Linked DNA regions of Homo sapiens: regions 2 and 3 are each linked to region 1. Evidence: promoter capture Hi-C in human tissues and cell types (Jung and others, 2019). All regions are on one chromosome and are shown on one strand. Each heading gives the region's core, a stretch centred on a gene start or on the middle of the fragment in contact. The rest is flanking DNA. Distances are from core to core; before and after follow the strand shown.

The links. The method cuts DNA at HindIII sites, captures the fragments that hold promoters and counts their contacts. A contact is called where the count stands out against the background at its distance.
Region 2: a contact is called between a fragment that was not itself captured here and the fragment with the promoter of UNC80 in region 1, in 1 of the 25 tissues and cell types used here (hippocampus).
Region 3: a contact is called between a fragment that was not itself captured here and the fragment with the promoter of UNC80 in region 1, in 1 of the 25 tissues and cell types used here (dorsolateral prefrontal cortex).

Annotation. Positions count from the first base shown.
Region 1 is chr2:209,769,807-209,774,033 of GRCh38, forward strand. UNC80 (unc-80 subunit of NALCN channel complex) reads left to right here and starts at 2,026. Exons shown (of 65, transcript NM_001371986.1): 1 at 2,026-2,358; 2 at 3,288-3,336. The coding sequence starts at 2,267. RefSeq lists an enhancer at 3,585-4,086. The HindIII fragment of the contact is 3,928 bases long and covers 633-4,227 here.
Region 2 is chr2:209,732,557-209,736,693 of GRCh38, forward strand. MAP2 (microtubule associated protein 2) reads left to right here. Exons shown (of 16, transcript NM_001375505.1): 16 at 1-1,556. Among named protein-coding and RNA genes, the nearest start is that of UNC80, 37 kb to the right of the region's middle. The HindIII fragment of the contact is 5,614 bases long and covers 1-4,137 here.
Region 3 is chr2:209,713,757-209,718,106 of GRCh38, forward strand. All of the region lies in intron 13 of MAP2 (microtubule associated protein 2), which reads left to right. Among named protein-coding and RNA genes, the nearest start is that of UNC80, 56 kb to the right of the region's middle. The HindIII fragment of the contact is 6,443 bases long and covers 1-4,350 here.

The DNA of each region.
Region 1 (4,227 bases), core at 776-3,275:
GCAGTTTTTTCACTTTTCTAGGATATTATATTTAGTTAATGGTAGGGCTAGAGCCAAAACTGTCTGGCTCAAGACCTAAGCTCTTAACCAATGTGCTATTTTTCTTTTCCCATACCCACTTGGTCATCATATCCTATTAATTCTACCTCTGCAATATTATTCAAACTCACCCCCTTGTCTGTAGTTCTGCTATTATGATCAGGGTTCAGGATCTCATAAAACATTTCTCTAATCTTCATACTGGGGTTCCTAATACAACTTTTGCCTGTTTCAAATAATCCCTACATTCCTGTCATGTCATTCACACTTAAATGGATATGAAGTTTCTACTTCTCTGCTTAAAGGCCTTCTAGGAAAACTTTCTAGCCTGTCATACAAAGTCTCCATCTGATTCCTACACATAATTTCTGCCTTGACCTTTTGTTCATAACTGAATCTGCATTCGTATCTCCCATGATTCTTTTCTCTTTTCATGTCTGTCTTCTCTTAATATTCAGACTTCCTTGTGAGCAAGAGTCCATATAGCTCCATAGAGCTATGAGTATATAAAATACACTCAATAAATATGCCTTGAGTAAACTGTACTTAGAATCTTTCTTTGTTTCAAGATCCATATTTGAGATCATAAGATCCATATTTTTGAGATTCATAATAAAAGATAACTTCAAGAAAGTAAATGAAGAATTTATTTCTATGGCAAAAAATATTGATATATACTATGCTGTTAATTATATATGAAATATTACATCTGTTGAGATTAGGACCTGGAGTCTGATTCTTCATTTCATGGATTACACCAATATCTTTGCTCTAAAAGATGAGGCCAGGCATGGTGGCTCATGCCTGTAATCCCAGAACTTTGAGAAGCCAAGGTGAAAGGATTGCTTGAGCCCAGGAGTTTGAGACTAGCCTGGGAAACATAGTGTGACCCCCATCTCTACAAAAATAAAAAATTAGCTGGGAGTAGTGGTGCACACCTGTAGTCCCAACTGTTGGGGAGACTGAGCTGAGAGGATCTCTTGAGCCTGGGAGGTCAAGGCTGCAGTGAGTCGTGATCACACGTCTGCACTCCAGCCTGGTTGAAGAGCGAGATTCCGTCAAAGAACAAGAAAGAAGAAAGAAGGAGAAGGAGGAGAAGAGGAGGAGGAGGAGAAGGGGGAGGAGGAGGAGGAAGAAGGAGAAGGAGGAGGGGGAGGAGGAGGAATTGCAGGTAGTTACTATTCCGATTGCTTCACCCCACCTCACCCCCCTCCCCGGCCTACTTGTTTTACTCCTAGATAATATATCTAACAGCAATCCAACTATAAAATATTAATATATGTAACATATAAGCATTTGACTATTACAACTGAAGGAAAATGGTAGCTATCACTGGGGGCGAACAGGATCACCCAAGTGCATTTAATGGACTGTAATAAACCACATTTCCTCACAGCATGATTCAAATGTTCTTCCTCAATTTGCAATTAACTGATATCCACAACTGGTTACTTTGGGAACTTTGTATTCCTGCTTTAGGAAAACAAACAAGGTTTATTTCTTGTGGTTATCATATAAAAATAACTTCTCATATCTAAGATCTTTCAAGCTTCCTCTCACTTGCCAACCTTGCCTCACCTTCCTGGTTTACACTTCTAATAATTTTCATGTGTTCCTCCGGCTAACCCCTGGACTCCTGATCTCCTTGCTGGAGGTGAGAATGATGCCAGGGTTAGCGACTGCTCTGCGGTTCCCCAAAGCTCCTCCTACCCAGACGGCGACAGTTTGGATGCTGAGGTTGGAAAGCAGGACAGGGGACACTCCTGAGTGCAGCTCGGAGCGGGGAAAGCCGAATTCCGGGGGCTGAAGAGGCCGCGCAGGGGACGAGCGCCTGCGATGCGGAGCGTGGACTTCTTGGGCCGTACCCCTGCGGCTCAAGCTGCCCCGGATTCGCTTCTCCGGCCGTGCAGCCCGGCGCGGGCCGCTGTCCACAGTGGGAGGTGCTGAAAGCAGGGAGCGGGTGCGGGGGCGGCGAGGCGGACCGCTGCTCCGAGCGCCCCCCTCCTCGCTCCGCGGCTCCTCCAGCCCTCCCCTCCTCCCGCAGCCATGTTCCACGCGCGGGGAGGGGTGGGGGGAGGGGAGAGGCACGGGGGATCAGGGCGGAGAGAGCCGGCTCTGCCTCGGGGAAGGAGGGGATGAGAGTTGGGAGCAGCGGGAGGAGGCGGCGGCGGCGGCTAGCGAGGAGACAGAGCTGGGTCCTGCAGTAGGACTCCCGGGAGCCACCATTATGGTGAAGAGGAAGAGCTCCGAGGGCCAGGAGCAGGACGGCGGCCGCGGCATCCCCCTGCCCATCCAGACCTTCCTGTGGCGGCAAACCAGGTGAGGGGCGCAGAGGGCGCACCGCGGGCCGCCCTGGGCTGGGGGCGCTCCTGGGGCCGCCCGGGTCGCCGCTGCCGCCGCCGCCGCTGAGGCCGCGCCACAGCCTGCAGCTCCCTCTCTGGGGCTGGAAAACAAGCCCTCTGCACCAGCTTAAAAACACGCATTAAAATATGTATATATATGTATATATTTCAGTGAAGTTTGACGACAAGCAGATTGGCAGTTGTCGCATAAATGTATACATTATTTTAGGGGGTGGGAGGGCAGAGAGCCTGGGAAGAGGGGGCGGGGAGCTAGATAATTATGACTGGTTGTGCTCCTGCGTCCAATTCCCCCTCCATCTCCTGCTGTAATTCTAGCCCAGTGACCTGTTGTTTTTCCAGCTCCTGTTTGGCGAATATCTGCTATGCCCACTTGTTAACCGTTTTGCTCAGATTAATCTCCCCAGTTAAATCTCCTGAGGATTTGTGATAAGGGACCTTCCCCCACAACCCCGGAAAGGCCTGACACCTATTCCAATAAACAGAAAAGGTTTTCTTTATTATTGTTATTTTAGAGATTTATCAGATAAGATATTAGATTCTGGAAATTATGACCCATAAGCCGTGTTCAATTTTCAGTTTTTATTATGACTGTACACGTAAGTAATGCACCACTTCTGACCACTGGCGATTTAAAATCTTAGAAGTCTTCAGATTAAGAGTGGATACCGAAAACCATCGAGATCCACTTCTCTTTCATATATGCAATTACACGTGTAAAAGAAAATGTCATCAGCTGTTCAACACCTGCTCATTAAAAAGCTATAAGGAAGCATGAAATTTGAATTTCATAGCATCCTGTCTTATTCATTGAAAAATACGTCACAAGGATGCTTTAATAATAATTTTACTTATGTTTATTAACAAATATCTCTATTAATTTTTCAGTGCATTTTTGAGGCCCAAACTGGGGAAGCAATATGAAGCTTCTTGTGTGGTATGTGATTTTCACCATTTAATAATTATTTCCCTATTCTGTGTGGTGGTTTGAACCCAAAGACAGATTTTAAATCAAACGGACTATATATATTAATTCACTTGGCAAATATTATTGATCACCCACTCTGTGCCAGGCACAATTCTCTGTGCTGGAATAGAACAATGATAAAAACAAATACAGTGTTTACATCCTAGTAGAAAGGGGACAAGCCACAAACAAATAAGTAAATACATAGTAAGCCAGATGGTGGTAAGCACTATGGAGAAAAATTAAGCAAAAAGAAATACTAGGAAGCACTAGGGAGGGGAGTTTTATAAGAATGGATAGATAAGGCTTATCTACCCATTAATGTGAACCTTGGCCAAAGACACAAGGGGAAGGGAGGGAAGGACAGCTGAGGGAAGAGCAGAGGAAACATGTTAAAGGAAATTAGCACCTACTGGGGAATAAGTGAAAGGGTGGGGCGGGATCGAGTGGTAGAAGAGAAGGCAGAGAGATAACAGGGAACCAGGTGGTGTAGGGTGTTTTTGCCACCTGCAAGTGTGAAGTCGAATCCTTAATCAACAAAACTGAGACTTATAGTGGAAGTTCATATGATGGAGTGCCTGTGAAAGAACTACTTGAACAAAATATATGCATTTCTGCACTTTTATGTCTTGCATATGTTCTCCAATTCTAAAAATGAATAATATAAAATAATTGTGAAAATAATACTGTTAATATTTATACAAAATAAAATGCATTTGTCCTGAGATTCTAAGGGAATCTTATATCCCTACAAATTCTTGTTTCACAAATTGAGAAAATAAGACATGAAATCATGAAGCAAAATTGAAATGGACTTTTCACAGCCTTCATTAATATTTGGAGCTTACCTAAAAGTCTTTA
Region 2 (4,137 bases), core at 179-2,678, 38 kb before region 1:
TGTGTGGAGACTTAGGGTATTTTATTACATGTTTTCATAGTCTTAAATAGTGATTAAATTTCTCTAGAAAGAAGTTAACAGCTCATTAGAAAAGTTTTAACCTGTGAAATAAGTATTTTTCTCAACATTCTTTAAAGTTTTTATATAAGTTAACACTAGGTAAACATTCTGCATACTAGAAGTCAGTTTATTACAAATACATGTCAAAAATAAAGATTATACAAGGCACCAAACTACTAGATTTGGCATTAAAACAAATGTTTATTTCTAATCACAACAAAATTATAATGAATAAATGTTCTTGCTTTGTATGGAAATACAATTCTTTATTAAAGTTAACAGAAAGGAACTGATCGTTTGTACCAGTAAAAGAGAGAAACACACAGGTTAAATATCTTCTTGTGGGGTTAAGGGGTAGAACCTATCTTGCCTTCACTCTCAAGATAACGACTCAAATTAAGCTTTTTGAGCACCACTCTTGTGGGGACACACATACGCTGATCTAGGAATGAAATCTTCGTGGTCTCAATTCTAGATCTACTATGCCAGTTTCTCTCTGGCTTTAGCCTTTGAGAACCTGTATAAGAATACGTAAGTAATCCAGAGCTGTGAAGAGTTTAAAGGCCAACTTCTCCAGTGAACTCAACCTCTGGGTCACTTGCAACCAGAAATTGGATACCTCATAATGATGCAGGAAAGACCCGAGTTCATGATGAGTTTCAAAGGCCACGTTCATTTAGGAACCAACTCTCTCTGGATTTACCTGCTGAGTTCCAGCAGCGTGATGGGCTGACATCCCACCTACAAGTATGACACCTGTGTAACACCAGCTAGGTACGGCTGGAGAAGGCTGAAGAGAGAATGCCATTAAATGGAAGAATGTACTGATTGTAGTGACCTTCTCCACACACACACACACACACACACACACACACACCTACAGTAATACAGCAAGCGTGGAATAATCAGCCAATATATAACATTCCATCAGTATTTTATTAAGGAAATAACCTGAATGTGGTTGATTTTGACATAGCTGCAATTACAGTTTTCTTCTATTTTTCAAGCCACAATAAGGAAAATAAACTACTCATGGTCTAAATACTAGAGATAAAGTAGATTCATGGCTTGGTAAGGAAATTTTAAGCATTCCTTCAAAGATTGACGTGCTAAAATAAGCATTGATGTTTTGAGTTTTTTTACACCTAGGATTTTTAGCTTGGGTGTGTAGGTGAAGGCCAAGACTCTCTGCAGGAAAAAGCTTATTTTCAAACTCAGAAAATAAAATGTCAATCATAAAAATCTACTTCAACTTTAGCAAAAAGAAAAAAAAATCAACAAAAAGTATACTCTGTATGCTGGGATTCCGAGGTTCCAACACACTGTTACAAATCTGTGGGGGGTTTCTTTCTTCTGATAATTCTAGAGCCTGTTACCATAGAAAGGCATTTCTTCAATGGCTGGTTGTAGTTAGTTCATGTTTTTCAATCAAATTTGCAAATGTATTTGTTGCTGTATAGTGATTGTTTTGCAAAATAAAATTGCTTGTCACCTAACTGCTAGTTTTGGTTTCAGACTGTTTAATTGCTTCTCCTCTGGAAAAAAAATTTTATATATATATATAGTGATATAGTGCGTGTGTGTGTGCATGTGTGTAATACAACCAAAGAAAAATTGTGAAAACAAGGCTATTATTATGGCTGAGTTTCTATTATGTGTCAGGCTCTATACTAAATGATTTTATATTAGCTCAATTAATAAGGAAATTTATTTTTATCACTACTGTATTAGCAGGATGCTATCTTTTGCAAGTGACAAAAATTCTAATTAAACGGGCTTAAACGTAAAGGTGAATTTGTAGGCTCAAGTAACTGACTACTCAGGTGTATCTGCCTCAGGCATGGCTGGGTCCAGGCCCTCAAACGACGTCATCAGGAATCTTCCCTTTTCCAACTTTTAGTTTTGCATCCTCTGTGTTGGCTTCCTTCTCAGGCAGGCACCCCTTCCGTGATGGGCACCAGAAGCTCCAGATTTCACAACCTATCAAAGAAAGCCCCTTTACAGTAGCTCAAATCCAGGGTCTGAAAATCACTGAACGATTAATACTTGGATCTCCTGCCTACTTATGCTAATTGACCAGGATTGGCTCACGTACCCAACTCTGTCACAGGTGGTTGGAGTAGAAGGAGAATAAGGGGAGAAGTGGCTTTATTCTCCTCCATACTACCTGAGCTAATCGTGGAGAGGAAACGTTTCCCCCAAAGTTAATTCAGGCTACTCCTGCCAGAAGAGAGGAATTGATACTGTACAGGCCACAAAAACAAATACGTGGTATAGCTGCACCCCTGTTCATCTTTTAGCTCCTTACAGCTCAGATTATGCTCAGGCTTCACCAGGGAGCTTGATAGAAATACAAATTTCTGGACTCCACCCCAGACTAACTAACTAACATTCCTCCAGGTGATTCATCTGCACTCAAAAATTTGAGAAACACTAAGCTCATTCAGTCCCTGCTAATGTGTTTAAGGAGAAAGAGCTCCGTTGCAGGTCTCTAATGGATAAAAGTTATCCCAAAGACTATTTGAGACAGCATCCCTACCTCTGATGTCAAACTAGGAACCAAGGCATAGAAAGCTGTGACTGGTAAAAGAAATACTTATGTGTGTATTAGAGGTTTTCCAGCCCTCAGACTATTTTAACTTGGCTAAAACCTACTTCTCTTATTAATGGCATCACTTCTCATTCAGTCTCCTTTTGCTAATAATGCAGATTTTGTAGAACCTAGCAAGAATTATTAGTGTATCTCTAATAATTCCTTAAAATCAGCACACATGTTGTCCTTCAGAGTCTTCAAACCATGAGGATTAAATTTGTCCAGTAGCATGAATCACCATAAAATTGTTGATTTTCTTTTTTATTTGTTAACAAGGCAAGGAAAGGTTTATTTGCCTTGACAAGAGACAACCGTAAATAATGGAGGATGACAGGATAACATTCAGTGTAACTTACAGAAAGATAAATGTTCCTCTTCTTGTTTATGATGTGGCACTTCCTTGTAGACCTGAGACTTCAAGAATTTAGGGCTAGAAAATTGTCAAAAGTATACAGTCTAGCAACCTAAAATTGTTTCAAAATATTAAGCCCTTCACTCGACTTTCTTGAGCATGATAAAGCAGCATCATGGACACACTCTTTAAAGCCCTTTTTCCACCTCTCATGCCTTTCCCTCACAAATATGCCTCAGCTGTTTCCACTTCTACTCCCTTAAATTCCAAGACAATCTCTGTCCCAGGCCTCAGTTGAGGTAATAAACCTGTGGCCTCCAGATAGGCTTTATTTGGCCTGCAAACTGTTTTCAAATTTCAGAAACTTCACATGCACACACACACATCCCAGATTTGGATCTTCGCTCTTGGTGACCATTGACCAGAGCTGTCCATGGGTACCTCTGAGATGGGGTTTATTCCCTTGACTTGGCCACCATGCCCAGCTAGGCTTATTATTTTCTCCCACCCCTCTGCTTTCACTCATTACGATAAGCATTAAACTACAGATTTAGAGTTTGTAACCCTTGACCTAGGCACACTTGTCTTTCTCGCCAATATTTTCCTCATCCTATAAAACAAAAGTCCAAAATCCTAGAGCCCCTAATCCTAGAGCCAGGGAGTTAGGGAGGTTAGATTAGAATCCTCAGGGTGACAGAGAACTGGGAACACCAATATTTATAGCTTTTGTCCTGTCTCAAAAAAAAAAAAAAGCAGGGGGAAAAAGACCTTTAAGAAGCACATTTATTTCATAGCAGCAACTGTTAATGTCCATGATAAACATATTTAAGTTTCTGCACACCCCTTATACTTATTGCTAAATCAAGGGAAAAAAAACTGCAGTGGAGTTTGTTTCCTTGTCGTGCCACCTATGATAAAGATCTCATTGTCAAGTGAGAAATGACAAAAACTATTGTCTTACTCTGTAGGACTGAACATATAGGATACTTGCCTATTCCTTTTAGGAACAAAGAAAGGCATAGCTAGGAAACGCTCTAGCCTAGACAAGCCAATGTTCTTGAACCCAAGGCTGATCTTCAGGCAATATACATGTTATTTAATTGAATAAGTTGTTACAATATTGAAAGACTTG
Region 3 (4,350 bases), core at 1,159-3,658, 56 kb before region 1:
ACTCAAGGAATAGTGCTTTTTGCCTTTTCTATCTAATAATCAGGTTTTAAAATAGTTACTTGGATTTATATGGAATGCTCCTATATGTTTTGACAGATATCTTGTTTTTCTCCATTGGCTTTATGAAGATGAGTATAAAAAGCACAAGTTGGCCAGGTGTGGTGGCTCATGCCTGTAATCCCAGCACTTTGGGAGGCCAAGGCAGCGGGTGGATCACCTGAGGTCAGGAGTTCGAGACCAGCCTGGCCAACATGGTGAAACCCCGTCCCTACTAAAAGTACAAAAAAAAAAGAAAATAGCCAGGCGTGGTGGTGGGCACCAGTAATCCCAGCTACTTGGGAGGCTGAGGCAGGAGAATTGCTTGAACCCAGGAGGCAGAGGTTGCAGTGAGCCAAGACCACGCCATTGCACTCCAACCTGGGCAACAAGAATGAAACTCTGTCTCAATAAATAAATAAATAAATAAAATTTTAAAAGCACAAGTTATATGCGCTTGTAATAATTGAAAGTTACTAAAGAAGTGGTTTCACAGATGTTGTTTTCATTAACTGCTCATTGGATAGGATAGTCAGTTAGAGCATAATCTCTGCAAGGCCATGTCTGTGGATCTGATTGATTGCCTCTGAATTATGTGCTTTTGCTCCATTAATGACTACAGTCAGTCATTTTCAGGTTAGCTAGGCTACAGATGGTGGCATCATCATGCAAGTCACTCCTTTTTGAAGAAAAAACAGTACTCACTTTTTAAATAAAGAACTTTGTAAAATTTGTCAGCATATTGCTTTCCCAATCAGCATTGGTCTGTCATCTTTGTAAAATTTTTATTTAGATAAATCTATTAAACTAGAACCTGTAAAACATATCATTACATTCTAGAAATAAAGCAATCTTAGTTTCTATATCTCAGTTCTATATGGATCTATTAAACTAAAGGATATTAGATGTCAGAGATATCCATCTCCTTCTAATCCAACCCTCACATTTTCACAGAGTAAGAAACAGAAGTTCTCACATTACCTGCATCTTGCATATAGGACATTAAATATCATCCTTCCATGGCTGAGCTGTGAAGTCAGAGTCTATACTTTGTCTTTAATGAATAATTAGTCACTTATCTGCAAGTATGTAATTTTGTATACCTTAGTCTTCTTTGTTTGCCTTACCTTTCATTTCATAACATGAAAATAAATGGTAATTTTATTTAGCAGTGTTTTCCATGCCAAAGTTTTTTTTACCACGTCAGGATTGAAATTTGAAGCTTCTAAACTTTTATTATATTTTCATGAAATAATTTAATGCAAATAGCATGTTATATTGATACACTATTAAAATACATGTTATATTAATATACTACATTAAATTTGGAAAGGTATGTTGCATTTTATCATATTTTTTGTTTTCTCCTATAATTGACAGTTATTTTTTAAATAATTCTAAAAATTAAGGTTTTAAAATAGAAGCTAGTTAGCTTTTTAATTTCTAAGGATAATATAAAGAATCAATTATGAAATATTATAGCATCAATCTTGGCATCTTAAAAATAACATGGGGAGTTGTCTCCTATTACTTTGATAATTCCAGAAATACAAAGTTTTACCTTTCTTTACTTGACCATTGAGTCAACAAATATTTATTGAGCACCTACTACACCATGCTATGTTCTACATACTGAAATATAACAACAAACAAAATAGACATAGATTTCTTAAATTCTTGCCATCATGGAATTTACATTCTAGGAGGAAAGGTGAGCAAAAAAAAAAGTGATATAAGAAAAATATGTAAAAAAGTGCTAAGTATGGAGAAAAATAAAGATAAGAAAGAGGCTCAGGATATGTTAAGAGGAAATTGCATTTCTGATAAGATGGCTAGGAAAGTCCCGAGAAGGTGATATTTGAATAGAAGCTCCAAGGAAGTAAAGAAGTAAGCCATTTGGATAACTAGGTAATGAGCCTTTCAGGCAAAGGGAACCACACATCCAAAGACCCTGAGGTAGAAGCAGGCCTAACATGTTCTAGGAACAGCAAGTACATCAGTGTGACTGATGCCACATACATCTTTGAGTATAGAAAGTTTATGCTATTATTACATTATTATTTTTAGTATTATTACATCTATTCAAATAACAGGACTTTCATATTGCTAAACCAAAAATCTAAGTGTTGACTTTTCCTCTCACTTTCTCTCATCCCATATCCTAACCATCTGATTTTGTGCCCTGAATAGCTCTTAAATCTGGCCATTTCACTCAGTCTGCTCTGCACTACCTTAGCGCAGGATACATGATCTCTTGCTGATATTGTCGCAATTGTTATTAATTTTTGGTTTCCCTACATCTGTTGTTTGCTCTATCTGATGTACTCTCTATACTGTAACCAAACTTTCTCACCACATTTTTCATTAAATATTCCATTATATAATTAGTAATTTAATGTCTATCTTGTTTCACTTACTAGACCATAAGGTCCATAAAGTCAGAGATGAGGTGCATTTTGTCCATAATGTCCCATACATAGTAGGTGCTCAATAAATATGCAGTGAAAATTGAATGAATGTATTATGCCATATTCATGGAGAGATGCATTCTTTTAGTGACACCGTTGAATGATTATGAATGTTTTATGTCATGACAGTTATTATCCAAAGAAACTTTCCATGTTTGTCTAAAACAAGCTTGTCCAACCCATGGCCCTTGGGGCCACATGTGGTGCAGGATGACTTTGAATGTGGCCCAACACAAATTCATAAACTTTTTAAAAACATTTTGAGATTTTTTGTGATTTTTTTTAGCTCATCAGCTATGATTAGTTTTAGTGTATTTTATGTGTGGCTCAAGACCATTCTTTTTCTTCCAATGTGGCCCAGGGAAGCCAAAAGATTGGACACCCTGATCTAAAAGAATATTGAACTAGGATTTAAGAGCTGAGTTAGTGGTCCAGCTCTTCTATTAAAGTATTGCATTACCTTAGGTACTGATTTTTTTTTTGTCCTTATTTGTAGAATGGAAGCAACAAAATCATGCTTGTTTTTGTATATAGCACCATTTCATTTAAATAGACTCTTAAATCATTTTAAATTCTCACATGCATGGTACTACTTGGAGCATGATAGTAGTTATGCATTACAGTTCATCAAAAAACATTCATTTAGGTATTCTAATAGATTCCATATATGTTTGTGCCACAAGGGCCAGCTGAAATTGAGTAAAAGAGCAGGTTTCTGAAATAGAAGAAAGGTGTCATAAGGGAAGAAGGAGACATAGAGAGGGAGGAAGAAGGGAATAAAATTAGTGAAATGTAGGGTGGAATCTTTTTAAATATATTCTTATAAAGTTTTAGGCATTATCTGTATTAGTCTGTTCTCACATTGCTATAAAGAGCTACCCAAGACTGGGAAATTTATGAAGAAAAGAGGTTTAATTGACTCACAGTTCCACAGGCTTAACAGGGCGCATGACTGAGAGGCCTGAGGAAACTTAAAATCATGGCAGAATAGGAACTTTCACTCTCTCTCCTGCCACCATGTGAAGAAGGTGCCTGCTTTAAGGGAAAGCAGTTCCACACACTTTTAAATCATCAGATCTCATGAGAACTCACCGTCTTGAGAACAGCAAGGGGGAAATCTGCCCCCATGTTCCAATCTCCTCCCACCAGGTCCCTCCTCCAATTCAACCTGAGATTTGGGCAGGGACACAAATCCAAATCATATTGTTACCCTCGGATTATTTGTAGGCCCTTTAAATGCTAATTACATAGTTTACCTTCAATTTTATATTTAAGAAAATGGATTAATTCTGGAAGCAACTAATAAATTATAGTGAAACAGAATTTTCCCTCATTATATGAAATTATAATGGTTACCACTATGAAGGTCTACTGGGTGCTATTAACATGTAAGCATATTTATAACATATAAGATGAAGAGAGAAAGATTGCAATGAATCTTTTTCTCATTCACATATTTATTCTTTCATCAAACATTTACTAAGATTGCTGGGCATTAAATGACAAAAGGGCAATGGGAGACAATGAGGCATGGTCTCTGCAATCTAGGCAAAAAGGAGGTTTTTTGTTTTTTGTTTTGTTTCTTGTCCTCCTCTAATGTCTTCCCCTTATTTAATTTTAAGTTTTTTTCCAAGCCATTTCTTCACATCTTCTTAGAGCTACAATAAGGGCTAAATAAGAGGACTCATAAAATACCCTACGAACTTGTAAAAATACTGTTGGTCAACACAGCATGAAGAAATTTATTACAAGGCTTTTGTTTGTTTTGTTTTGTTTTTTGATATCAAAGTCATCATTATATCAGAGTGAAAGCTACTTAAGATCAGGACTCTGTCTTTATGCAATA